6 separate regions of the Homo sapiens genome follow, and regions 2, 3, 4, 5 and 6 are each linked to region 1. Evidence: promoter capture Hi-C in human tissues and cell types (Jung and others, 2019). All regions are on one chromosome and are shown on one strand. Each heading gives the region's core, a stretch centred on a gene start or on the middle of the fragment in contact. The rest is flanking DNA. Distances are from core to core; before and after follow the strand shown. Region 1 holds the start of FAM185A (family with sequence similarity 185 member A). Region 2 overlaps NAPEPLD (N-acyl phosphatidylethanolamine phospholipase D). Region 3 overlaps NAPEPLD (N-acyl phosphatidylethanolamine phospholipase D). Region 4 overlaps ARMC10 (armadillo repeat containing 10). Region 5 overlaps FBXL13 (F-box and leucine rich repeat protein 13). Region 6 overlaps FBXL13 (F-box and leucine rich repeat protein 13).

Region 1 (4,171 bases), core at 1,534-4,033:
TAGTCCCATGCTCTGTTTCAATTTTGCAATTATCACCCTCAATACTTTGAACTTTTACACAGCCAGACCCTGATGACTTGATATCTAAACCTAGAAGTAAAAAAAGAAAAAAGCAAGTTAGTACTGCAGTTTATAAGCTCCAAAGCATTTTAACCTAGAAACCCAACTCCTCAGTTATGTCCGTAATATTGCTGAATCCTGGAAAGTGCATACTGTAAAGGTAAGGGGTCTTCTACCACAGCAACGGGACCAAAAACAATAGCCTTTCTGCCCGTTTTTAGAAACAGAGCAGTTATTTCTACTGGCCTAAATCACCTAAAGAGAACTAACATAGATGGGAAGTAAAGGAGACTACGATTCTGTTAAGTACTCCTGTGAAAGACTGTAGAAGCCTCTTCCCCAGTATATATGATCATGACTTAGGTTTTCAAATCCTATGTCTAACCTTTCATACTTAAAAAATGAAAATATTACCATGCAACTATATCACAGGTATTTGAAGTAATTTTTTAAAAATGGGAACAACTTTGAAAAAGCTAATATATACTATTAAAACTACAAGATTAGGCCATGAGCAGTGGCTCATGCCTGTAATACCAGCACTTTGGGAGGCCGAGGAAGGAGGATTGCTTGAAGCCCAGGAGTTCAAGACCAGCCTGGACAATGTAGCAAAACTCCATTTCTACAAAAAAACAAAAACATTAGCCGGGCATGGTAGCATGCACCTGTAGTCCCAGCTACTCAGGAGGTGGAGGCGAGAAGATTGCTTAAAACCGTGAAGTCAAGACTGCAGTGGGCCATGATTGTGCACCTGTACTCCAGCCTGCGTGGCAGAGTGAGTGAGATGCAGTCTCAAAAAAAACCAAAACAAACAAACAAAAAACCCCACAAGATTGTGGACAAATGGCAGTGGTATATGAAGCAAGTTTGGAAAATAAGGAATTACAAATGCCATCCTTGGCTGTCTATTTAAGATGTAACTGCAGGCATCTCTGTATACAAATTTTAAAAATTAAAAACGCTGATATTTAATTTGGAATTAACATAAATATTGATGATTTCTCTTAAAGTAGGCAAGACCCGCCCCCCCACTTGATTCCTGAAACCACAAATAGTACCAAATCCTATATATTCTATGTTTTTTCCTGTATACATATCAATGATCAAGTTTAATTTATAAACTAGGCATAGTAAGAGATGAACAATAATAACAAATACAGCAATTATAACAATATACTGTAATAAAAGTTATATTACTGTGATCTGTCAAAATATCTTAATATTTTCCTACAACAGCTGAGGCAGGTAACAAACTGAGACAGCCAAACGGTGGATAAGGGAGGACTACGGCATCTACTATTTGGGCAACTCTAAGCATTATAAAAGATGATCTTAAAAATGCTAAATGCTATTATTATTACTATCATCATCATCATCAATATCTTCCATCAGTCCCAGGAAGAATGACAGTCTGGGGAGCCCTTCCTAGAAAAGTGTGTGTACACAGTGGCTTGCCATTTAGGAAAAGCTAAGAAAGGTATCTTGCAGGCATTATTATTGAAGCTTCCTAGGCAGGCTTACCATGTGTTTTTCTTCAAAGCTTGCTACTCATGGAAAACTTAGGCCAAAAAGAATGGAAATATAACAGTAAGAAGCTGGGCGCCCGTCTAAAACCAAATACTCAAACCAGGTGATACCCGGAACATCCTATTGACAGGGCTGTTTTGGGACAGACCCCCAGGCTGTGAGCAAGATGAAATGTAGATGGACTGCCATACCATTGAATGAATTGTCAAGAAACTTCAACCTTGAAAAATAAGCCAGTTTGCTAATGACAACGGGATAAAGGAGAACACAAGCGGCTCCAGAAATAGAATTTGACCTGGATTATACCAAATCATGTTTCCATTCGATGTATAAAATTTCTATAATTGGGAACCTAATTTTTAAATACTACTCGGACACTCAAGAACAGAACAGAGGAAAAGGTGCATTTCCGAAGGGGCCAACTGTAAATTAGGTTTAGAGAGCCAGGACCAATTAAAAGTGCACGTCGACCACATTTATTAAGTTCACTGTGCGTTCCCTGGGACCCAAACCCGTTTTCACTTCACTTCACTTGCCAAACTTCAGGGGCGCGTTCACCTCCACGGACGCCTGGGGGTGGATAGTATCAGACACAATGGCCATCTCCTCCAGATCCTCGTCGTACTTCACCTGCAGGCCGTCCAGGCCCCGCACGCCGCCCTCCACGCCGCACACCGCGACCAGCACGCGGTCGCCATCCGGGTAGGTGAGGGGGTCCAGGGGCCTCACGGCCAGGTGGCACGGGAGCCGCGCCCGCAGCCGACCAAACGGGCTCACCTGCAGTGTCCACTCCTTCAGAGTTCGGCGCCCCGGGCCAGGCGGAGGGACCTCAGTCTCCGATCCGGGCCAGCGCTCGCTCCCACCTGAGCTGTACGGCCTGGCTTGGCAAGCCCAGCAAGCCCAGCGCCCAGCGCCAGCCCACAGTCGGACCTGACGGAGACAGAGACGGAAGCAGCCAAGCTCCCAACCTGAGCAGGGGGCAAGCATGGCGCGCCTCTCTCGCCAGTCCTCAGAACACTTCAGCCACAGGGAGGGTCACTTGCCACGGCCAATCGACTTGGCCACTGTGCCGCCTCAAGTCAAATAGGAGACGTAAGTCAGGGTTTGCTGAAACAAGAGCGAGCCGGTTGGCTTGACTAGGCGTTCTAAACATCAGCCGCGCAATCCCCAGGGGCAAGTTGGGATTTGAAAGCTCTAAACTCTGACCTGGACCCCTTGCCTAAGTCCACCCCCTTTCGCTAAGGCCGACGGGATAGGTAGTTCTAAGTCGCAGAGCTCTGCCTCTTAGAAACCACATTTCCCAGGAGGCAATGCGCAGGGGAGCACGGGTAAGAGGGTAGGTGTTAGAATCGCTGGAAAGGCGGGCGCCCTTTGTCTCAAGACCATTGGCTATTGGAGGGGCGGTACATGGGAGTCCACTGGCCAATGGGAAGCACGGAAGGGGCAACGCGGGTAAAGCTGCGTGGTCACCTTGGATACCAAGCACGCGACTTCTTGGTTGGAGAGGGTGGAGCTTTGGAGTGAGACCCAGGACGCCAAATCCCAAAGAGAAAAATAGGAGCCTAAATAAGGATCAGGACCAAGGGAAGGGGTAAGAAACTGCGCTTTTTAAGATGACAACTAGGTGCAAACTAGGAGTAACCTCTGTGGATGTCAACATCCAAGCTTCACTAACTTAGTGAGGGCATCTCCAGGGCATGGAGAATGCCTTGGTAAGAAAGTAAAGAGCAAGATTGGTGCTTTTTGAGGGAATTGCCTCTTTGGAAGTGTATTCCCTCCTATATTCCAAATATAGGAATAGAGTACTTGCTCCGTCCTGACCCTAAGTGACCTTACTTTGGGTTTTAATTTGCTCACTTTAAAAATGTAGATAATAATACCTTCCTTGCCTTGCCTCAAAGGGTTTTTGTAAGGATCAAGTAAGAAAATGGATGGGACCGTGGTGCACAGTCTACAAAATTACCGTGTAAAGAACTGTATTTTTATTTCAACGTACTTAACATTGATTCTGAGTTACCAAGAAAATTATGAGAGATCAGAACTTGTTTTGAGAATAGCATTGATCTCTTTGACTACAAATGATCCTCAGTTTTAGAGTGAAAAAAAAAAAAAAGACACAAAAAAGAGAGTCACCATGGTGCGGTGGAAAGAGCAGGGACAAGGGTCAGGTTATTTTCCTGGCTCTGCCACTGCTTCATCTGTGTCACCTAGACCTGTTTCTTTAGTTTTAAAATGAAGAAAGATGGTTCTAAATGACCCTATAAGGGGTGTGTGTGTGTGTGTGTGTGTGTGTGTGTGTGTGTTTACCTTTTATAATTCTATAGGCAGTAAAATAATGGGAACAGAAAGATTTATTTTCTTCTTTTTTCTTTTTTTCTTCTTTCCTGCCTGGTTTCTCTCTCCCCCTCTGTGCCCCTACTTCCTCCTAAAATGTATTCCCTAAATTATTTAGCCAAGACACCTGCAAACACTAACATTTCATAAAATGCAAGTGCCTTAAAAAATAGAAGCCCTTACCCAAGTACAATGACCAGAATTCTTGGGGCTATCGTGATAGATAGACTGGGCTAAAGTTCTCATGGGT
Region 2 (4,171 bases), core at 1,672-4,171, 370 kb before region 1:
GGTCTCAAACTACTGGCCTCAAGCAGTCTTCTAGCCTAGGCCTCCTGAAGTGTTGGGATTACAGGCATGTACCACAGCACCAGCCTTAAACTTTTAAAAATAGTTTTATTAACATGATATAGGCTTCACATATTTAAAATGCATAATTTAATGAGTTTTGACATATGTATATACCCACGAAAAGATCACCACAATCAAGACAATGAACATATATATTATCCCCAAAAGTTTCCTTGTGTCCTTTTGAAATTCATACCCCCTTATTCTCCCAACCTGGACCCCAGGCTGTTACTTTTTACGAAAACATGTTAGTAAATGAGATTTAATGAGAGGAAGTATGGTTTACTACAGTGGGTCTGGCTGGGTGACCTTGCCTGAGTGCTGTAACTTCCCTAATTCATTGTATTCTTAGCTGTAGAATGGAGCTGGTTTATAGGACCTACTTCCAGTGTTGTGGTCGTAGCCAGTAGCAGTTAGTACAGTGTCTAGCACATAATAAGCACTTCATAAATGGTAGCTGTTGTTAATAGTATTTTGTTTTGTGTTATGCTAAAGTACTTGATACATTAGGTAGTTCATCATCATTATGTGCCCAATATGATGCCAAGTACGAGTACTTAGTAGGTACTCAGTTTATATTCATTCCCTCTCCCTTTCCTCATTAATTCTGGATAAGTATACCTCTTGGCATATGTCATTGTTCACTAACCCTAACTCCCAAATTTAAGAACTGATTGAAAGTTGACATTCATTCATTTACTCATCCATTCAACAAATTTTGTTGAGCACATGCTGTGTTTCATTAATCAAACTGAGCACTGAATGATTCCACCTTTCATAAGACATGGGACAAATTCTGTGTACACATAACCAGAATATCCAGAGGAGATGTGTGAATAGGGAGATATGGAAGTTGAGAGGCAGGAGTAAGTGCTTCTAGCTGTGGGACTCAAGAGATGGCCCGAAGGGATAAGGGGGAAGATAATTTAACCTGAGAAATGGGATGAGTACCGTGCAGGGTTCTTGAGCTCAGTCTAGGAGTAGGAAGCAGTCTCCATGTAGGTGGGACACAGCACATGTGGAAGAGGAGCATGAAACGCCCGAGAGAATTGGGGCAGTCCCTGGGCAGCTCACTGCTGGGCTGAGGAGGTGAGACAGACTTTGTCAGGCAGTAGAGAGCCAGTGGAGATTTTGCAGCAGAGGAGACTTAAGTTATACCTTAAGTTGGCTGTTTTTGAGGTGGCTCTTGTGCATGGATTGAGTTGACAGGCAGATAGTTGAGCAATCTGGAGAGCTTTGAATGTCTGAATATTTCTTAGCATCTTAACTAGGTTAGTAGCTCCACGGAAATGCAAAAGATTGGTAACATTGGTGCCTGGTTTGTTGTCAGGGTTGGAACTTTCTTGCTTTTTCTTTTGGACTACTTGTAGAGTGCTTATTATGTCCCAGCCACTCGTAATTCTATCCTCACAGGAATGAAGCATAGGTACAATTATTACACCTGTTTTCCAGATGAGGAAACTAAAGGTTTAAGTGGCTAAGAGAAACCTTTTTGTCCTCCACCTGTGCTGCTCCTTCTCTTCCTGTCCAGGCCTTCTTCCCATTCAGACTCACTCTCTCATTGACCTCTCAGTTTCCCTTCACCAGCATCTCCCCATCTGCCCTCTTTTGTCTGTGTCTACCGGTGTATCCTTTGCTCAGGTCCTCATCTCTTCATATCTTGGCAACTGTTGTGACACTCTCCATGCCATCATTTGGACTCTAGAATTGTTTTATCTAAACATAATTGGGTCATGTCTGTGTGTATGTGTGTGTGCACATGCATGCATGTGTACGTGTGTGTGTGCACGTGTGAGGGCAAAAAGATACCTCCTAGGCCTGGCGTGGTGGCTCACACCTGTAATCCTAGCACTTTGGGAAGCAGATCGCTTCAGCCCAGGAGTTCGACGCCAGCTTGGGCAACATGGTAAAACCCACCCTGTCTCTACAAAAAAAAAAAAAAAGATGCTTCCTCATTGTCTTAGAGTGAAGCATGACACTCAAGGCTCTTAATGTGTTCCCATCTTTATAGATTTAGTTTGTCCCCTGCCCTCAAACACCACATTCCTGTTTGGCTCTGTACCTTTGCTTGGGTGGTTTCTCTACTTGAAATGCCCTTCTTCCTTTTCTCTGCATCATGAGTTTCTCATCATTCTTCAGGAACTCACACAAGTCACTGTGTCTGTGATGCCTTTGGCAACTGGGCTCTTCATTCCTTCTTATCAGGCTATAACATGACCTGTATTTTAACTACTTATCCAGTACCACACCCTTTCAAAGTTGATTTAGTGGCAACTTACAAACATACATAAAGCAGTAAAAAAAGAATTGGATGAGGTATAGAATTACTATACCTAGCCAGTCTAGGAGCAAAATGGACTATTAGACTAGAAAAATAAAATAAAGCCAAGAATAAAGTTAATATAGAAATATGTTCCATCATGTGCTGCACGTTGCTGCAGGTGGCCTCAGCTTTTCCTCTGAACTTCCTAAAGAGAGAAGTATCATGAAATCTTAAGAGTTTTCCCAGTGACAGAAATGACAAAGCCAGGTGCTCTGGAGAAGAATTTTTCCTGAAACGAGATGGGAGGGAAATGTTTCTGGGGTAAGTAGGAAGGTGGAGGTGGTACCAAGTCTGCAGCCTGAACACATACATGGTGAGTTTCATGAGGTGGCTTCCTATGAGAGACCTCCATGCAGCTATATAGCATGGTACCAGAGCACAATTCAGTAAAAGAGCTTTATAAAAGCCAGGACTGTGATGCTGCAACCTTACCACTTTTTGTTGGCCTAGCTTAATCCAAGTATAAAATGTAGAATAACCAAGGGATAATACTCTTCACGCTTTGTTATAGTTATTGTTTTATATCCATTTACGGCCCCCCTTATCTCAGTGATCAGCTTCTCACAGGAAGGGATCATATTCACGTTGGTTTGATTAATGGTAGAAAATCAGAAAGGTAAGGAATGAGGAAAACAATTTATGACTGTGATTTGTCCAGGAATCATCACAGCGCTCCATTTTGAATTATAGGTACTCAGAAAGTGAGATTCAGGCCAGGCACAGTGGCTCACGCCTATAATACCAGCACTTTGGGAGGGCAAGACAGGATGATTGCTTGAGCCCAGGAGTTCAAGATCAATCTGGGCAACATAATGAGACCCTGTCTCTACAAAAAATAAAAAATTAGCTGGATATGGTGGTGCTGTGTGCCTGTGATCCCAGCTGAGAGGTTGAGGTGGGATGATCACTTGACCCTGGGGGGTTGTGGCTGTAGAGAGCTGTGATTATGCCACTGCACCCCAGCCTGGGTAACAGAGCGAGAGCCTGTCTCAGACAAAAAAAAAAAAAAAAAAAAAAAAAAGAAAAATATCAGATTCATGATTCATGTCTGAGAGCCAAGAGCTACAAATAAATGGTCATAAGCTTTCTTTACTATTTCCAGGGACTGACCTGCTTTTAAGGCAGTTTTTAGCAGCAAATACATCAGCTGAGTAGAATGGCAATAGAAAAATGACTGCATCTAGGCCAGTCTACTTCTGGCAGTACTGAAGAGAGCCTTTAAAAAATTGATACATTTAGCAGCACTCAAAGTTTTAAATTTAATTTTCTCTTTTGCATTTGGGAGGAAGAAGATTACCATATTATCATGATTATTAAGTCAGATTCAGAAAGAAGTATGCATTTTCAAGAAAAAAGCAAAAGTGTAGCAAGTTTATTGAATGACTTTAGTTCTCTTAAAACAGCTCTTCTTGCCATTATTTAGGTCAAAATGTGGACTATGATGATATAATACTTTTTTTTCTAACTACTCTTTTGTCTTGCTTTCTTTATACACAAAGGAACTAGACAAAGAACTCCCAGTGCTTAAGCCATATTTTATCACTAACCCTGAAGAAGCTGGAGTGAGGGAAGCTGGCTTAAGAGTCACATGGCTGGGACATGCCACGGTAATGGTGGAAATGGATGAGCTCATATTTCTCACGGATCCCATCTTTAGCTCTCGTGCTTCACCATCGCAGTACATGGGTCCAAAGCGATTTCGTCGTTCCCCGTGCACAATAAGTGAACTCCCTCCAATAGATGCGGTCCTTATCAGTCACAACCACTATGACCATCTGGACTACAATT
Region 3 (4,171 bases), core at 1-2,500, 350 kb before region 1:
CAGTAAAGGGTGACTCCCATTTAGCAATTCCTCAGGGCAAAATCTTGACTCCTCTTTGCCACACAGAGCTCAACCTTCATATTCTCTGGGATCCTCTTTCATTCTGTAGACTGTGGTTTCTGTATGTGACTAGACTTTTTGAGGATAACAACCCTTCTTCAGCAAAACAATTTGCTCTAGCATTTGGTTACACACACACACACACCACAATTTGATTTCTATATTTTTCAAAAATGTTAGTAACATGTAATTCTCTAATAACATCATCTTTGGCACTGATTCCATCTAGATTGGAATTTCATATGGTGAAACCGTGATGATTTCATGCAATCCAGTGATGTTCAAAGTAAGATGGCACCAAATTTCACATACATGGTGTTGGCATGATTTCTATCCAACCAAATACCTGTTGACTTAATTCATGACTCAAAACTGTATTAGAAAATGTGATAGACCCATTTGCTAATGCTTCAATTAAAAGAAAGGGCCTAATTCTAACTAGGCATCTGTTGGTTATTTTAGTTTGAACTGTTATTTGGAAAATCTCCCAAATATATGTTTAATCTTTTTCTATTTTTCTTCTTTCTCTTTGGCCAGCATTACTTAGAGCCTCCAGTGAAGCTGAATGAAGCTCTAGAGAGATACGGACTTAACGCTGAAGATTTTTTTGTCTTGAAGCATGGAGAATCAAGATACCTAAATAATGATGATGAAAACTTTTAATAAATGTGAGCACAGGCACTTTTAATGAAAAAGGCATCATCTAAGTTTAAAAACAAATGAAAAGACTTAGAAATTCATGAATATTGTGATTATTTTACATTTGGAAACAACTTCTGCAAGTTTATGTTTTATGTTTTGTGTAATAACTTGCTTCCTAGTATGATCAGCTCATGTACACTATGAGAGGGTTCAGGGGTGGGTCATTTAAATAATGAATTGGCTAATGTGGATTTTAAATTTCATATCATGATATAAGCACTGCAATGGAAATGTTTTTACTAAAACATTATATTTTTGTGGTACTAGAATTTCCTGAGGTGAAAAACCGATATTGAAGATTCATTTTTCTTTTTTCCATTCTTCAGGACCTTCGGCAAGGTGAGTCAAGGCTCTCTACCTACCTAGATGTTTTTCAGAGGCCTACAAATACAAGTATCTTTCTTATATGCACATTCTAATAAATGATGAAATTCAGTCCAACATGCTTATTATAAACATAGCAATTCTTGCTCTATCAAATTAGCTTATATGCCAAATATTAAATATGGTTTATTTAGGTAAGCATAAAAACATAGGGGCTATCATTTTTAAAGACTTGATTTTCTCTATTGTGGTAAAATATATAAATACATATTTGCCATTTTAAACATTTACCATTTTAACCATTTTTAAGTGTACAGTTCTTTCGCATTAATGCACCCATGACCACCATTCACTTAAATTTTTAAAAGAACAGTATATTCTTTTTTTCCTAGAGCCTTCAGATGAGAGGGAACAGTATATTCTATTGCACGTCTACAATTCCCAAAAGACCTCTTACTTTGGGAGGCCAAGGTGGGTGGGTCACTTGAACCCAGGAGTTTGACATCAACCTGGGCAACATGGTGACCTCCCGTCTCTCTCGGAAAAAAAAAAAGAAAAAAGAAAAAGCCGGGTGAGGTGGTGTGTACCTGTAGTCACAGGTACTTGGGAGGCTGAGGTGGGAGGATCACTTGAGCCCAGGAGATAGAGGCTGCAGTGAGCTGTGATCGTACCACTGCACTCCAGCCTGGGCGACAAAATGAGACCCTGTCTCAAAAGAAAGCCCTCTCCTTAGCTGAGCAGAGGAAGGGAAGGAGTGTGGCTATGAGAATATGATTTATGCCATTTTCTGTTTTTAAATCTAGAAGATCTTCTAAGCACAAATACAGCTACAATGAAATATTTTACAGACAAAATGTTAATAGACCATATTCTTTGAATTAAATTTGTTTTTAATTTTCTCTACACATTTTTTTTTTCCTGGAGTCTCTTAGCTCTAAATATATCAATCAGATTTATAATTTTTTTTACCTGATTCAGATGTCTTACATTTTTATATTAAATGAACCTTAAGCATGATTCTTTTGGTAAGCCAGTATGAATGCCAGTGGTTGGGGGGCGGGGGGGGAGTCAGTTGACATAAGATTTAGTCCTAATAAGGACTCTGTATTCACTTGATTATTCTGACCCTTCCTAAGGGAGGGAGGTGGATTAGATACCACTGGAGGCCCATTCTGTATTCCTAATCCAGTCTCAGCACTTTATTCATACAAAATAATCAAAATAGGTTTTCTACACCAAATGCTACCCAGGCAGTGCTCTATAATTTATTTGCACACCTGTATGTGTGGTGCCACGTTAGCCACTAAATCTGAACTTTTACCCTGCTTTCATCATGGATTTTTTTGTGTAACCTGAAACAAGTCACCAGTGCTCACTGTGCCTGTTTCCTCATTTGCAACAAGAGGATAATTCCGACCTACCTCTGAAAAATGTGTAGATTAAATGAGTTTTTAAAGCACTTTAGAAAATATAAGGGAGAAAATGATTTCTTAAGATATCACTGCCTAATATAGACAGGTATATTTGAAAGCTAAATACAGGTTAATGCTTTTGATAATGTATTGTTCCTGTTGCAAATTTAAGCATTATATATTAGGAGACTAAACATTGAAAACTTTCACTGATTTTTAAATTGGAGTAATAGCCTAAATAAGTGTAAATAATCTTTATCAAAATTTAGTGTTTATCTACAAAGATGCGAATCAGTCAAGGGGAAATGTGTATGCAATGTGTGTGTATATGATGTATGCGAACATATGTGATTTTGGGGTACTAAAGCACAAAAAAATCCCCCATAAAATAAACCTTCCTGAAAAGACTGATCATAAACTTTTTCACTCCAAGCAGATGTGAATCAAGATGTTAGGTTTATGGTGAGTTAGCTTTGAGGTGTGTTGCCCTAATACTAGCCAGCGTTGTTGTAGCCATATTCCCTGCTGCTGCACGCCGAATTGAAAATCCATCTCTTACCTCTTCTCTATGAAGCAAGCCAGGTATGTCTTGCTTAAGTATTTCTTCTCCATGAATGGCCTTAACATTATTTTGTATTCACGTGTACTGTTTAACTGAGGGTCTCAAAGCACTTTAAACTGTTGTGTTCTATTTCCACTCGTCTGGCCTGCCTCATTTTTCTAGGCCCTTTTGTAAGCTGTAATTTTTTATTACCACTCATGTTCTTTCTACACTGACACTATTCATTAAGAACATCAAGCTTCATCTCTGCTTACAGAATCTCACCTTATTGAGTGGGTTCCACTTTATTTTTCATTTGTTATCTACATTTTGAAGGGTTTATGTGCAAAGTGAAAACAAATTTTGAAAAATAAGACAAATCCATTCTCTTCTTCAATTCAGTCTAATATGCATTGTAGTGTCTTTTAATCAGTCTTATCCTCTAAGTCAACTTCATTTTCCTCTTCGTGAATACCCATAGCAATATGTAAGATTTTATTGAAGTTTCCTGTGATAACTGAGGAATACTTTGCTATGCCTCACTGCCCAATAGGGTGGGTCATCAATTAGGAGAAATCCCAAATTATAAAAGCCAACATATGCCGTGACCTACGTAGGAAAAGATGTATTTGTGCATCTTCTTTCTGGGTAGTTAAAAATTACTCCCTCTTTTCTCTAGCATTTTGACATTTCAGACTCAATGCTCTGATCTCTAGGGAGTGTGATTATTCAAACTAATGAGAGGACAAGAAGACACAGTTTTAGAATCTACTGCTGCTAAAGCACATTAAAAACAAATCCTGGTTTTTAATGTATGCATAGTTTCATATTTAATGAATATGCTTTCATTAAATAGGGAGGTAGATTTGAAAAAACCGTTATAAAGAAATGTGCCTTTTGGGGAATGAATACTTTTGTTCATGTCTAGCCCACTGGGAATTTTGTTTTCACCTTATACTGAGTCCTTTTTCTAATGTAAAAATATTTCTTCCAAGTTTGATTTCTGTATCAGGGTAACATTGAGAACACACATATTTCTGTTTGAGGATTTGTGACTTCCTATGGAAACAGTCTTGCATCTATGTATTTACAAATGAAATTTAAAGTATTCTTAAAGCTTTGCCTTAAATAC
Region 4 (4,171 bases), core at 1,137-3,636, 340 kb before region 1:
CTGTTGAATGACAATTTCTAGTTTGAACATGGGAGTCCTGTTTCAATAATAAACATAAAACACTGCTCTTTTCTATAACCAAGGGGTATCACTGGGTTCTGGCTATATATGCCATGGCTGAAGTGTTTTAACTGTTGGCATTTACCAAGTTAACTATTTTTTTTACAGGTTAACTGCCTCATAAATAACATTTTTGAAAAAGCATTAAAGCAATGTCAGTAACGTAGGTTAGCATTTTATGTGCATCCTAAAATGGAGGATTTCTCCCCATACAACAAGATAAAGGAACAGTTATTCTGTAAAAGTCAGTTTAATCTATTTGCACATTTGCCTCATCCATTGAAAGAGCTAAAGCATACAGTGACTTAACACTTTGCAATACACTCATACAGTACACTTAATTTCAAAGGCAAAACTAGCCAAACTGTATGCATTAACAACCATATTTATGAATATGTAGCATCGGATATGCTCCCTGAATGAATCTCTTGTAATACTAGTTCTAGTTCTAGCGCAAAGTCTTGTCCCAACTTTCAGCCAACTATATTCACTATTTGGTTGGTGCCTATAGCCTTAAGGCTATTACTGTCACCAGTGCCTGTCCCTGATGTAGAGGATAACCTGTAGAATAAACAAGCATTATTTTACTGAAACAAAAGTCTTATTGTACCTCTTATTGGCTAGTTCAGGTCCCTCCCTCTTCTGTCTTATTCTCCATTCCTCTAAAGGTAATCCTTGGCTGTAAAATTACAAAGGATAGTCTACTAAAGTTTCATTACTCATCTTTTTGTTATTTTTTATTTATAGAAAACCTTATACATTTGTGATTTTCAGTCAACTTACCTTTATCTTGATTTGATTTTCAACATTCACACTCAGGTTATTTAGTGCATTTAAAGCTTTCTCTTTAATACTCTGGTTGGAATGGTTGATTTTGTTTGCAACAATTGGAATACCACCCAATTCACGAATAATAGCCTACGAGGGGAAAAAAAAAAAAAAAGCAGGACTGGGACTTCAGTATGCATCTCCGTTCACTGAATTCTTTGCATCCACAAATACAATTAAAAATCAACGGCTTTTTGGAAATCTCTTTCCCATATACAAATATTTAATTCATATTTTAAAAAAATCTCACTACCCATACTTTTATAGGTAAAGAAAATCCATTGAAAATAAGATTATTAAGATATATAATTATTTAAACTACAATGTTGAGAAATACAATAAAAATTTATAGAGATACTATAACGATCTTGAAGCAACTTACAAATAAAATTATTTTTCTTTGAGATGAGTTATATGACTTCTCCATTATAGGCAAAACTGGAAAAGTGTTATAATTTAGAATACTAAAGTTAGTGTTTTGGATTTAGAATACTAAAGTAGTGTTTTGCTAACACGTATTATTTGAAACACTAATCCCTCAAAATGTTAAGAGATGTTCCATAAAAATAAGGGGGGGTGGTTTCCCATGGTTATCTAAGTTTAGGAAAATCTGAGTATAACAAGAGTAAGCATGTTTCTTTAATATGTCCATGTGCATTGGGAATCTTGAAGAGGGGTGTGTTGACGATAGTATGTCTATGAACTAAACACAAAAAAAGGGTCATTTTTTCAGCAGTGGAAGTGGTGGGAACGCACTGATATCTTGCAGAATCAGGTTCCACACAGTTTGAAAAATGGTACCCAGGGCCAGGCGCAGTGGCTCACACCTGTAATCCCAGCACTTTGGGAGGCCGAGATGAGTGGAACACTTGAGGTGAGGAGGTAGAGACCAGCCTGGCCAACATGGTGAAACCCCATCTCTACTAAAAATACAAAAATTAGCCAGGCGTGGTGGCCAGTGCCTGTAATCCCAGCTACTGGGGAGGTTAAGGCAGGAGAATCGCTTGAACCTGGGAGGAGGTTACAGTGAGTTGAGACTGCACCACTGCACTCCAGCCCGTGCAACAGAGTGAGACTCTGCCACAAAAAAAAGAAAAAAAAAAAAAAAAAAAAGAAGAGAAATGGTACCCAAATATTCAGAGGGAAAATAATCTGGGATGTCTTACAGTTGGTTGCAATACTATGTTACCATGTGCTTTTGGCTCAAACATTGAAAGAATTAAATCGCTTTAATTCTCGTAAGAAAAATATGCTAAAAATTATTCTTGTCAAGTGAAGACATGCTATTCTAGCAGGAAAAAAGAAAAAGACTGCCAAAATCTACTTCTTAGAAATAGCTCAATACTCCATTTTACCGTTAAGGGTGATCTTAGCATTAAAAGAGAAATAAACTTTCCCTTTACAATTTCAAGTTCTTTCGAAGGACTTGCAGTTACTAGAAAAGTTTTTTTTTTTTTTAACTGTATTGTTAAAGCAGATTAAGGTACTATAATTGATGGTGAGGGCACTGACCCCCGCTGCTCAAGAAAGTACTTCTTCTCCAGTGGGTACTGGCCTACTCTGACTACAACTTATTTTAGAGGAATACAAAATTATGCCATCAGAAATACTTCTTTAAAGGCAGGCTAACACATTAATCACTAGCTATTGTTTTTGCTTGTCTAGTGGCTCTCTTTCCACGGGGGCAGATGTGGCATCTCCTCTGTCCCACACGGTCCCTGCTGGGATTGTTGTTCACTTGTATTCACAGCCATCCCTGCTACTTAGCTGCAGGATGCTCATGTGAACCAGGCCTCAATAAACATGGGCCATGGTCCCTCGACTGATCCAGAAATTGCCCCGGAGATTGATCCAAAGGGTTAACACTGGATCCTAGAAGAACAACTGTACCTTTTGGATAATGAGCTACAGAGATGAAGGCTTAGAGAGGCTAGTGGCTTTCTTTCAACCCTGGTGAAGAAAACCACTTTGTGGCCAGAAAGATAAAGACCAATACATAAAATTGAGCGGCCATAAGCAAAGCCAAAAGGTAGAGAAAGAGAGAACTCTGGGAACTCTGCAACCTTGAACTGGACTCAGTTGTGCCTGAAATCAATGCTATTCTTCGCTGTCCAAGTTAGCTGAGCTCAATATTTTCCCTTTTAGGCTTAAAATAATTTAAAGTGAATTCTGTCATTTATAACTGAAAGAGTACATAATGCACAAAGATTCTCTATCTCCCTATACGTTTATAGAGCTTTACAGTAAACCTTGCCATTCTGGAGAAAGCTGGGCTAAAAAAAACTATAAATTCAAAATAATTTTGTACTTATGACAATGTTAACAAAGGGCATTGGCTGAAAACAATTACGAAATTTTGTTTTAACTATTTTTTCATGCTGGAGGGTTGTGAGGAAGAGTAGGAAGAAGCACATGTTCAAATTAAGCTCTTTAGTCTTAGTGTTAAGTCTCCATTTGCAGGAGCCATTTACATTGATTAGTGGTTATCAGAGTGTGGTCCAGGGACCATCAGCATCAGAATCATATTCATAAGACCGATATACAATTTAAAGTATGTACTTAAATGTTAGATGCATTCATTGTTTTACTGAAGCACTGCTGAATTTTAAATAATTTAAAAGGCCATGAAATGGTAAACGTTGATTAGATATACTTACGAATGTGATGCCAGTGACCAACTTCATAGGGATCTATAATCACATTAATAATCATATCACTATTAGGCTGTGTTTTTCAGAAGTAAACAAACATTATGTTTTAAGTATAAGTAGCCACATTGCACAGATGAGGAAATTGAGGGTCTGAGAGGTTAAGTAATTTATTCAGGGTCACAATTACCGCTAGTGTGTAAGAATGGAAAGAGCTTGCTTGCTGAGTTGAGGTACTTACTTGGTTAACTGAAAAGGCTGCATTGTTACCCAAAGTAATCAAAGCTCTTTCAATAATTACAGGATCCTCCGTTGACTCCAGCAGGTAAAGGAGTTTCTGAAGTTGTTCAGCATTTAGAACATCATCATATGAACCATCAGTTAAGTCTTCTGCATAAGAAGAAAGTTATTTGAAGTTAAGCTAAAATCAATACGAGGTTATTTTTGAAACAGGCTCTCACTCTGTCACCCAGGCTGGTGTGCGGTGGCACAATCATGGCTCACTACAACCTTGATCTCCTGGGCTCAAGTGATCTTCCTGCCTCAGCCTCCCAAGTAGGTAGGACCTGTGGTCCTAGCACATGCACCACACCCGGCTAATTTTAAACATTTTTTGTACAGATGGGGGTCTCACT
Region 5 (4,171 bases), core at 866-3,365, 300 kb before region 1:
CATGGGAATGTAAATTTTTACCTAGTTTAATGGGTTAAAGGATTGTTTTAAATTAAATAGAATAAAGCTAAAGGTTTGAACAAGTTGTGGAAGGTTTGTAAAAATTTGTAAAAGAAATTCTGTGTGTGAAAATATTGACTAAATTTAAAAGTGTATTGTTCAGTTTTTCTGTAAATTGAACATTGAAATAAAAGCATAATAGGGTTTTCTTAAAGCACTAATCTGCTCTTTAATAAAAATTGGTAAAGGGTTATAAAAGGTTTATGAAAATCTCACCTTATGGTCAAACTGATTAAGATTAGATAGATTTGTCTGTGAGGTTTTATTAAAAATTGGGGTTGACATTAATAGTCCACTAATGCAAGGGTGAAATTTGGCTTTCTCTCTTGAACAAGATTTTCATGTAATATTAAAAGGTAATGAAAGATTTTTGTTTTGTTTGCCTTTTAAATACACTATCAAAAAAAAAAAAAAGAAAGGAAAGACAAAAGACAGATTGTTTGGAAAGCTGAGTCTTCCCTCTATCAATGAGTAAAGGTTTTTGCCTTTAAAAAATTTTTTGAGTCATCATTTTGGCTAAGTGAGTGACTTACAGTGACCTGGAATTCTAGTTCATAATATCAAGTGTTTTAAAACTTTATATATATATCTTTATATTTAATAGGCTTCCCAAAATTAAATTTCAGCTTTAAAATGGTCTTTTCTGACCTCTAACTTTGGAACGCTACAGAGGGCCCCTGAAGCATCCAAAAGAGAGGTAAACAGAATTATTTAACATGTTAAGTTACATGGGAAGCATTGTCAAAATAAAAATAATGTTTAATCTTCAGGTTATATTTTAGTGAATGATATTAATGTATGTTCTAAAATTGTATGGGGCCAGGCACAGTGGCTCATGCCTGTAATCCCAACACTTTGGGAGACCGAGGAAGGCAGATCACCTGAGGCTAGGAGTTTGAGACCAGCCCGGCTAACATGGTGAAACCCCGTCCCTACTAAAGGTACAAAAAGTTAGATAGGCATGGTGGCGGGTGCCTGTAAGCCCAGCTACTTGGGAGGCTGAGGTGGAAGAATCACTTGAACCCAGGAGGCGGAGGTTGCAGTGAGGCAAGATCGTGCCTCTGCACTCCAGCCTGGGTGACAGAGCAAGACTCCATCTCAAAAACAAACAAAAAAAAATGTATAGGACTTATAAAATTCTAATATGTCTGAGTATATACTGTCAACCATAATTATAGTTATTATGTTAAGTTATTGTATATCACAGAAATAACCAAACTTCCTTGTATAGAACTGCTAACCCAAGTAAAACAAAAAATTAATTAAATACCAAGAAAATACTTTGCCAAGATTTTCATGTTAAACCAGCCGATAGTGAAATTGATTAGATATACAATTTGAATTCCATAGTCTAAGTCTCATTACCTGTGATAACCATTAGTTATCAGTGCTATGAATTTAAATTGGAGAAACAACTGGTATTCAACAGGACATAAGTCCAATATTAAGCATAGACTCATGGAAGACCAGGAAGGCTATCTTGTCCTTCCTGAGCCCTTAAAGCTTTTGTTATTAAAGGCTCTGCATTCCATGACTCATCATGGAAAAGATAAAATCATCCAAATTGAATATATTGATATAATGACTTATACATTTCAAAAATAGTTTAAAACCAATGTTTGGTTCCATATTCCTGGGAAGACAATCAAACCTTCATGTACGCTTGGCTATCAGGTACGTTTGGCTATCCGATGGGTCATTTAAACATTTATAAAGGGAGTTCATTCAACTGTCATTTTTAATGCATGTTTTATGCTACAGTAATTATTACGCCACAGTATATTTTCACCAGGTAAAGAAAGTTTTTATGGTTCACCGAGGATAATCAACTGCTTCACAGTCTAGAACCTAAAGACTGGATCTTTTGAGAACATCAGAGAAAGACTGTGCTTGCCATCCACACTGCAACAAAACTTTGGAACCTTGAACTTTAAGTTCATAATCTCACAACTGAGAAGGGTCCCTCCACACTATTGGAACTGTACACCCATTGGAACCCTTAAGGTAAAACTAACCAGGAAAGTTTCTCCCCAGAATAAGATGGCATCCTTGATGTAAACAGCTTTTCCCGAGATCACAGATCAAGACATCTACTATTGTGAGACTCTTATCTTTGAATATTTTTTCCTTATTTATGCCTCTGTAGCCAATAGAAATGATGAGGGGGTCTATTATGTGCACTTATAGGGTATACTTTTATTCGTGAAGGATTTTGCACCAGCCTTATACATGAATAACTTTATACTTTGATGGATAAAAGATGAAGGCCCAACATAGGTGAGAAACTTTAATGGTATATATGTCGCCTCATAATCAGTCAAAACTCCTCTTAGCCCACATCATGGGTTAAATAGAACATTGCCAGGAGGCCTTCACTCTTCTAGAAGGACATCATTTGTTAGGTCCTTTTTCCATGGTTTAGAATAAAAGAGGCAATAATTAGAAATGTATCCCTCATGATAGGCTGTATAGCAGATTCTAATGTAAAGCCTATTGTTACACAACAGACTTTAAATTCTCTTGTGAAAGTTATGCTAAATAATATAATTGGCTAAACAGAAAAGTACCTGTGCAGCTTCTGACACTTGTGGCCTATGGAGAAATACATCAAACGTAGATTATAAAAATTCAGTTGTAGATGATTAATGAAAAGACCACTTAAAGCAAGTAGACTCTTTATCCAGCTCATTCTTTAATCTATTTAATTTTAGGTGGTTCGGTTTATGGGTACCCTGGGTAAGGAGCATACTCTAAACTCTTGGTATTATCCTCCTGAGAGTCATAATAATAGTCTCCCTGGTGCACTGTATTCTCTCGAAGGTTTTAAATCTTGCATGCAGCCACCTCTAGAATGTCAAATGGTCTCTCTTCAAATGGAAAGACGAGCTGAAAGAAATGTGCGACCATGAGATTACTATAACCTATGAATGACGTGGTGAGACTGGAAACCCAAAATGATGGTAACTGAGAGTGGCACTAAGGCCCTAAGTTTTGGTCACACTTTCACCTAAGTGAGAACCTGACCAAAAAGGGGGGAATCTTTTTTAAACAAAGTTGTGGGAGGCCACTGTTTTGGACTAAGCTCATTCACTAGGCCCCAACAGGCCAAACCAAACTAAAATGGGGTCACTTATGCTAAATGTGACATAATCAAACTAAGACTTTACGGAAACACATAGATCCTAGAACAGACCAGGTTTTGTTTTTCTCCTGTAAATAGGACATTCCAGCATAAAGAGGTACCCATAAAGGGTCCCTCTACTCATACTTGTTTTTACCTTTGCAAAACTCAATGTTCTACTGTTTCCCAGTATGTTTCAAGACCAAATAAGTACTTTTACAATGGTGATAGTGACATTGATAATTAAAGTTTTGGTCAATCTCTCAAAATTGAGAAAATGACCAAAAGGGGGAAGTTGTTAAAGTGAACTAAATGTGGCCTGAGAAGGATTCCCTGTTTCTATATTTGAGTCTTTGTGGACGAACTGCAACCTAGCTTAATAGATAGACAAGATTGAAAACCTAACTAGGAGTATGCACGTGTATCAATAGCTGAGTCTTGGCCAATCCCAGCAGCCATACTTCAACCATTCATACACTGCTGAGTGTTCAAACTGTGTTCAAATAAGGCAAACACCAATCTGTAACCAGTCCAGCTGTTGTGTACCTCACTTCCAATTTCTGCACATCATTTCCCTTTTTGTGTCTATTAATCTTCTTCCACCATGTGGCTGCACTGGAGTCTCTCTGAATCTGCTGTGATTCTGGGGGCTGCCCAATTCACAAATTATTCATTGCTCAATTAAATTCCTTTACATTTAATTCGGCTGAAGTTTTTCTTTTATCATTGCCTATTTATAAAGGATAAATATGTCTCTACTTAAAGACGAGTGAATACAGGAAACTGTGAGTAAGCCAAATAGTAAAGAAAAAGTAGGAACTGCTCTCATAATAGTAGAAGGAAAGACAATTTCATTGTTTCAAGCATTCCAAGATGAAAGAATCAACCATTGTAAGGAGGAAATGAACTTCACAGACTTGGTTCTCATTTCTTAGGAAATGAAATCTCCAGATGGGCCTTCTAACTACAAGAGAAAGCATATATAAAATT
Region 6 (4,171 bases), core at 902-3,401, 270 kb before region 1:
TTCCAGCACCATTTATTAAATAGGGAATCCTTTCCCCATTTCTTGTTTTTGTCAGGTTTGTCAAAGATCAGATGGTTGTAGATATGCGGCATTATTTCTGAGGGCTCTGTTCTGTTCCATTGGTCTATATCTCTGTTTTGGTACCAGTACCATGCTGTTTTGGTTACTGTAGCTTTGTAGTATAGTTTGAAGTCAGGTAGCATGATGCCTCCAGCTTTGTTCTTTTTGCTTAGGATTGTCTTGGCAATGTGGGCTCTTTTTTGGTTCCATACGAACTTTAAAGTAGTTTTTTCCAATCTGTGAAGAAAGTCAGTGGTAGCTTGATGGGGATAGCATTGAATCTATAAATTACCTTGGGTAGTATGGCCATTTTCACGATATTGATTCTTCCTATCCATGAGCATGGAATTGTTTTCCATTTGTTTGTGTTCTCTTTTATTGTGTTGAGCAGAGGTTTGTAGTTCTCCTCGAAGAGGTCCTTCACATTTCTTGTAAGTTGGATTCCTAGGTATTTTATTCTCTTTGAAGCAATTGTGAATGGAAGTTCACTCATGATTTGGCTCTCTGTTTGTCTATTATTTGTGTATAGGAATGCTTGTGTTTTTTGCACATTGATTTTGTATCCTGAGACTTTGCTGAAGTTGCTTATCAGCTTAAGGAGATTTTGGGCTGAGACGATGGGGTTTTCTAAATATACAATCATGTCATCTGGTCATCTGCAAACAGGGACAATTTGACTTCCTCTTTTCTTAATTGAATACCCTTTATTTCTTTCTCTTGCCTGATTGCCCTGGCCAGAACTTCCAACGCTATGTTGAATCGGAGTGGTGAGAGAGGACATCCTTGTCTTGTGCTAGTTTTCAAAGGGAATGCTTCCAGTTTTTGCTCATTCATTATGATATTGGCTGTGGGTTTGTCATAAATAGCTCTTATTATTTTTAGGTACGTCCCATCAATAACTAATTTATAGAGAATTTTTAGCACGAAGGGTTGTTGAATTTTGTCAAAGGCCTTTTCTGTATCTATTGAGATAATCATGTGGTTTTTGCCTTTGGTTCTGTTTATATGCTGGACTATGTTTATTGATTTGCATATGTTGAACCAGCCTTGCATCCCAGGGATGAAGCCCACTTGATCATGGTGGATAAGCTTTTTGATATGCTGCTGGATTCGGTTTGCCAGTATTTTATTGAGGATTTTTGCATGGATATTCATCAGGGATATTGATCTAAAGTTCTCTTTTTTTGTTGTGTCTCTGCCAGGCTTTCGTATCAGGATGATGCTGGCCTCATAAAATGAGTTAGGGGTTGTTCCCTCTTTTTCTGTTGATTGGAATAGTTTCAGAAGGAATGGTACCAGCTCCTCCTTGTACCTCTGGTAGAATTCGGCTGTGAATCTATCTGGTCCTGGCCTTTTCTTTGGTTGGTAGGCTTTTAATTATTGCCTCAGTTTCAGAGCCTGTTATTGGTCTATTCAGGGATTCAACATCTTCTGGTTTAGTCTTGGGAGGGTGTATGTGTCCAGGAATTTATCCATTTCTTCTAGATTTTCTAGTTTATTTGCATAGAGGTGTTTATAGTATTCTCTGATGGTAGTTTGTATTTCTGTGGGATCAGTGGTGATAACCCTTTTATCATTTTTTATTGTGTCTATTTGATTCTTCCCTCTTTTCTTCTTTATGAGTCTTGCTATCCGTCTGTCAATTTTGTTAGTCTTTTCAAAAAACCAGCTCCTGGATTCATTGATTTTTTGAAGGGATTTTTGTGTCTCTATCTCCTTCAGTTCTGCTCTGATCTTAGTTATTTCTTGCCTTCTGCTAGCTTTTGAATATGTTTGCTCTTGCTTTTCTAGTTCTTTTAATTGTGATGTTAGGGTGTCAATTTTAGATCTTTCCTGCTTTCTCTTGTGGGCATTTAGTGCTATAAATTTCCCTCTACTCACTGCTTTAAATGTGTCCCAGACATTCCGGTATGTTGTCTCTTTGTTCTCATTGGTTTCAAAGAACATCTTTGTTTCTGCCTTCATTTCATTATGTACCCAGTAGTCATTCAGAAGCAGGTTATTCAGTTTCCATGTAGTTGAGCGGTTTTGAGTGAGTTTCTTAATCCTGAGTTCTAGTTTGATTGCACTGTGGTCTGAGAGACAGTTTGTTATAATTTCTGTTCTTTTACATTTCCTGAGGAGTGCTTTACTTCCAACTATGTGATCAATTTTGGAATAAGTGCTATGTGGTGCTGCGAAGAATGTATATTCTGTTGATTTGGGGTGGAGAGTTCTGTAGATGTGTATTAGGTCTGCTTGGTGCAGAGCTGAGTTCAATTCCTGGATATCCTTGTTAACTTTCTGTCTCGATCTGTCTAATGTTGACAGTGGGGTGTTAAAGTCTCCCATTATTATTGTGTGGGAGTCTAAGTCTCTTTGTAGGTCTCTAAGGACTTGCTTTATGAATCTGGGTGCTCCTGTATTGGATGCATACATATTTAGTATAGTTATCTCTTCTTGTTGAATTGATCCCTTGACCATTATGTAATGGCCTTCTTTGTCTCTTTTGATCTTCGTTGGTTTAAAGTCTGTTTTATCAGAGACTAGGATTGCAACCCTTGCTTGTTTTTTTGTTTTCCATTTGCTTGGTAGATCTTCCTCCATCCCTTTATTTTGAGCCTATGTGTGCCTCTGCATGTGAAATTGGTTTCCTGAATACAGCACACTGATGGGTCTTGAGTCTTTATCCAATTTGCCAGTCTGTGTCTTTTAATTGGAGCATTTAGCCCATTTACATTTAAGGTTAATATGTTATGTGTGAATTTGATCCTGTCATTATGATGTTAGCTGGTTATTTTGCTCATTAGTTGATGCAGTTTCTTTCTAACATCGATGGTTTTTCCAATTTGGCATGTTTTTGCAGTGGCTGGTACCGGTTGTTCCTTTCCGTGTTTAGTGCTTCCTTCAGGAGCTCTTGTAAGGCAGGCCTAGTGGTGACAAAATCTCTCAGTATTTGCTTGTCTGTAAAGGATTTTATTTCTCCTTCACTTATGAAGCTTAGTTTGGCTGGATATGAAATTCTGGGTTGAAAATTCTTTTCTTTAAGAATTTTGAATATTGGCCCCCACTCTCTTCTGGCTTGTAGAATTTCTGCCAAGAGATCCGCTGTTATTCTGATGGGATTCCCTTTGTGGGTAACCTGACCTTTCTTTCTGGCTGCCCTTAACATTTTTTCCTTCATTTCAACTTTGGTGAATCTGACAATTATGTGTCTTGGAGTTGCTCTTCTCGAGGAGTATCTTTGTGGCGTTCTCGGTATTTCCTGAATTTGAATGTTGGCCTGCCTTGCTAGATTGGGGAAGTTCTCCTGGATAATATCCCAAAGAGTGTTTTCCAACTTGATTCTTCTCCCTGTCACTTTCAGGTACACCAATCAGAACTAGGTTTGGTCTTTTCACATAATCCCATATTTCTTGGAGGCTTTGTTCATTTCTTTTTACTCTTTTTTTTCTCTAAACTTGTCTTCTCACTTCATTTCATTCATTTGATCTTCAATCACTGATACCCTTTCTTCCACTTGATGGAATCAGCTACTGAAGCTTATGCATGTGTCACATATTTCTCGTGTCATGGTTTTAAGCTCCATCAGATCATTTAAGGACTTCTCTACACTAGTTATTCTAGTTAGCTATTCATCTAATCTTTTTTCAAGGTTTTTAGCGTCTTTACGATGGGTTCGAACTTCCTCTTTAGCTTGGAGAAGTTTGATCGTCTGAAGCCTTCTTCTCTCAACTTGTCAAAGTCATTCTCCATCTAGCTTTGTTCTGTTCCTGGCGAGGAGCTGCATTCCTTTGGAGGGGGAGAGGTGCTCTGATTTTTAGAATTTTCAGCTTTTCTGCTCTGTTTTTTCCCCGTCTTTGTGGTTTTATCTGCCTTTGGTCTTTGATGATGGTGACGTACAGATGGGGTTTTTGTATGGATGTCCTTTCTGTTTGTTAATTTTCCTTCTGACAGTCAGGACCCTCAGCTGCAGGTCTGTTGGAGTTTGCTGGAGGTCCACTCCAGACACTGTTTGCCTGGGTATCACCAGCAGAGGCTGCAGAACAGCAAATATTGCTGAACAGCAAATGTTTCTGCCTGATCATTCCTCTGGAAGCTTCGTCTCAGAGGGGTACCCAGCCGTGTGAAG

The links. The method cuts DNA at HindIII sites, captures the fragments that hold promoters and counts their contacts. A contact is called where the count stands out against the background at its distance.
Region 2: a fragment that was not itself captured here is called in contact with the fragment with the promoter of FAM185A in region 1 in 3 of the 25 tissues and cell types used here (hippocampus, mesendoderm cells and thymus).
Region 3: a contact is called between a fragment that was not itself captured here and the fragment with the promoter of FAM185A in region 1, in 7 of the 25 tissues and cell types used here (H1 embryonic stem cells, dorsolateral prefrontal cortex, hippocampus and 4 more).
Region 4: a fragment that was not itself captured here is called in contact with the fragment with the promoter of FAM185A in region 1 in 7 of the 25 tissues and cell types used here (H1 embryonic stem cells, IMR-90 fibroblasts, dorsolateral prefrontal cortex and 4 more).
Region 5: a contact is called between a fragment that was not itself captured here and the fragment with the promoter of FAM185A in region 1, in 7 of the 25 tissues and cell types used here (H1 embryonic stem cells, IMR-90 fibroblasts, bladder and 4 more).
Region 6: a fragment that was not itself captured here is called in contact with the fragment with the promoter of FAM185A in region 1 in 5 of the 25 tissues and cell types used here (IMR-90 fibroblasts, mesenchymal stem cells, mesendoderm cells and 2 more).

Annotation. Positions count from the first base shown.
Region 1 is chr7:102,747,611-102,751,781 of GRCh38, reverse strand. FAM185A (family with sequence similarity 185 member A) reads right to left here and starts at 2,783. Exons shown (of 8, transcript NM_001145268.2): 1 at 2,124-2,783; 2 at 1-90. The coding sequence starts at 2,574. It also overlaps the pseudogene RASA4DP. RefSeq lists silencers at 2,794-2,963, 3,004-3,093 and an enhancer at 2,766-3,060. The HindIII fragment of the contact is 9,642 bases long and covers 1-4,171 here.
Region 2 is chr7:103,119,935-103,124,105 of GRCh38, reverse strand. It overlaps NAPEPLD (N-acyl phosphatidylethanolamine phospholipase D), which reads left to right. Exons shown (of 5, transcript NM_001122838.3): 3 at 3,883-4,171. Among named protein-coding and RNA genes, the nearest start is that of NAPEPLD, 27 kb to the left of the region's middle. The HindIII fragment of the contact is 6,917 bases long and covers 1-4,171 here.
Region 3 is chr7:103,099,981-103,104,151 of GRCh38, reverse strand. NAPEPLD (N-acyl phosphatidylethanolamine phospholipase D) reads left to right here. Exons shown (of 5, transcript NM_001122838.3): 5 at 598-4,171. The coding sequence ends at 723. Among named protein-coding and RNA genes, the nearest start is that of ARMC10, 27 kb to the right of the region's middle. The HindIII fragment of the contact is 4,955 bases long and covers 1-3,727 here.
Region 4 is chr7:103,083,437-103,087,607 of GRCh38, reverse strand. ARMC10 (armadillo repeat containing 10) reads right to left here. Exons shown (of 7, transcript NM_031905.5): 3 at 3,778-3,926; 4 at 844-978. Among named protein-coding and RNA genes, the nearest start is that of ARMC10, 10 kb to the right of the region's middle. The HindIII fragment of the contact is 7,401 bases long and covers 1-4,171 here.
Region 5 is chr7:103,044,702-103,048,872 of GRCh38, reverse strand. All of the region lies in intron 3 of FBXL13 (F-box and leucine rich repeat protein 13), which reads left to right. Among named protein-coding and RNA genes, the nearest start is that of FBXL13, 28 kb to the left of the region's middle. The HindIII fragment of the contact is 4,592 bases long and covers 1-4,171 here.
Region 6 is chr7:103,017,094-103,021,264 of GRCh38, reverse strand. The region is part of intron 7 of FBXL13 (F-box and leucine rich repeat protein 13); the gene reads left to right. Among named protein-coding and RNA genes, the nearest start is that of NFE4, 46 kb to the right of the region's middle. The HindIII fragment of the contact is 6,114 bases long and covers 1-4,171 here.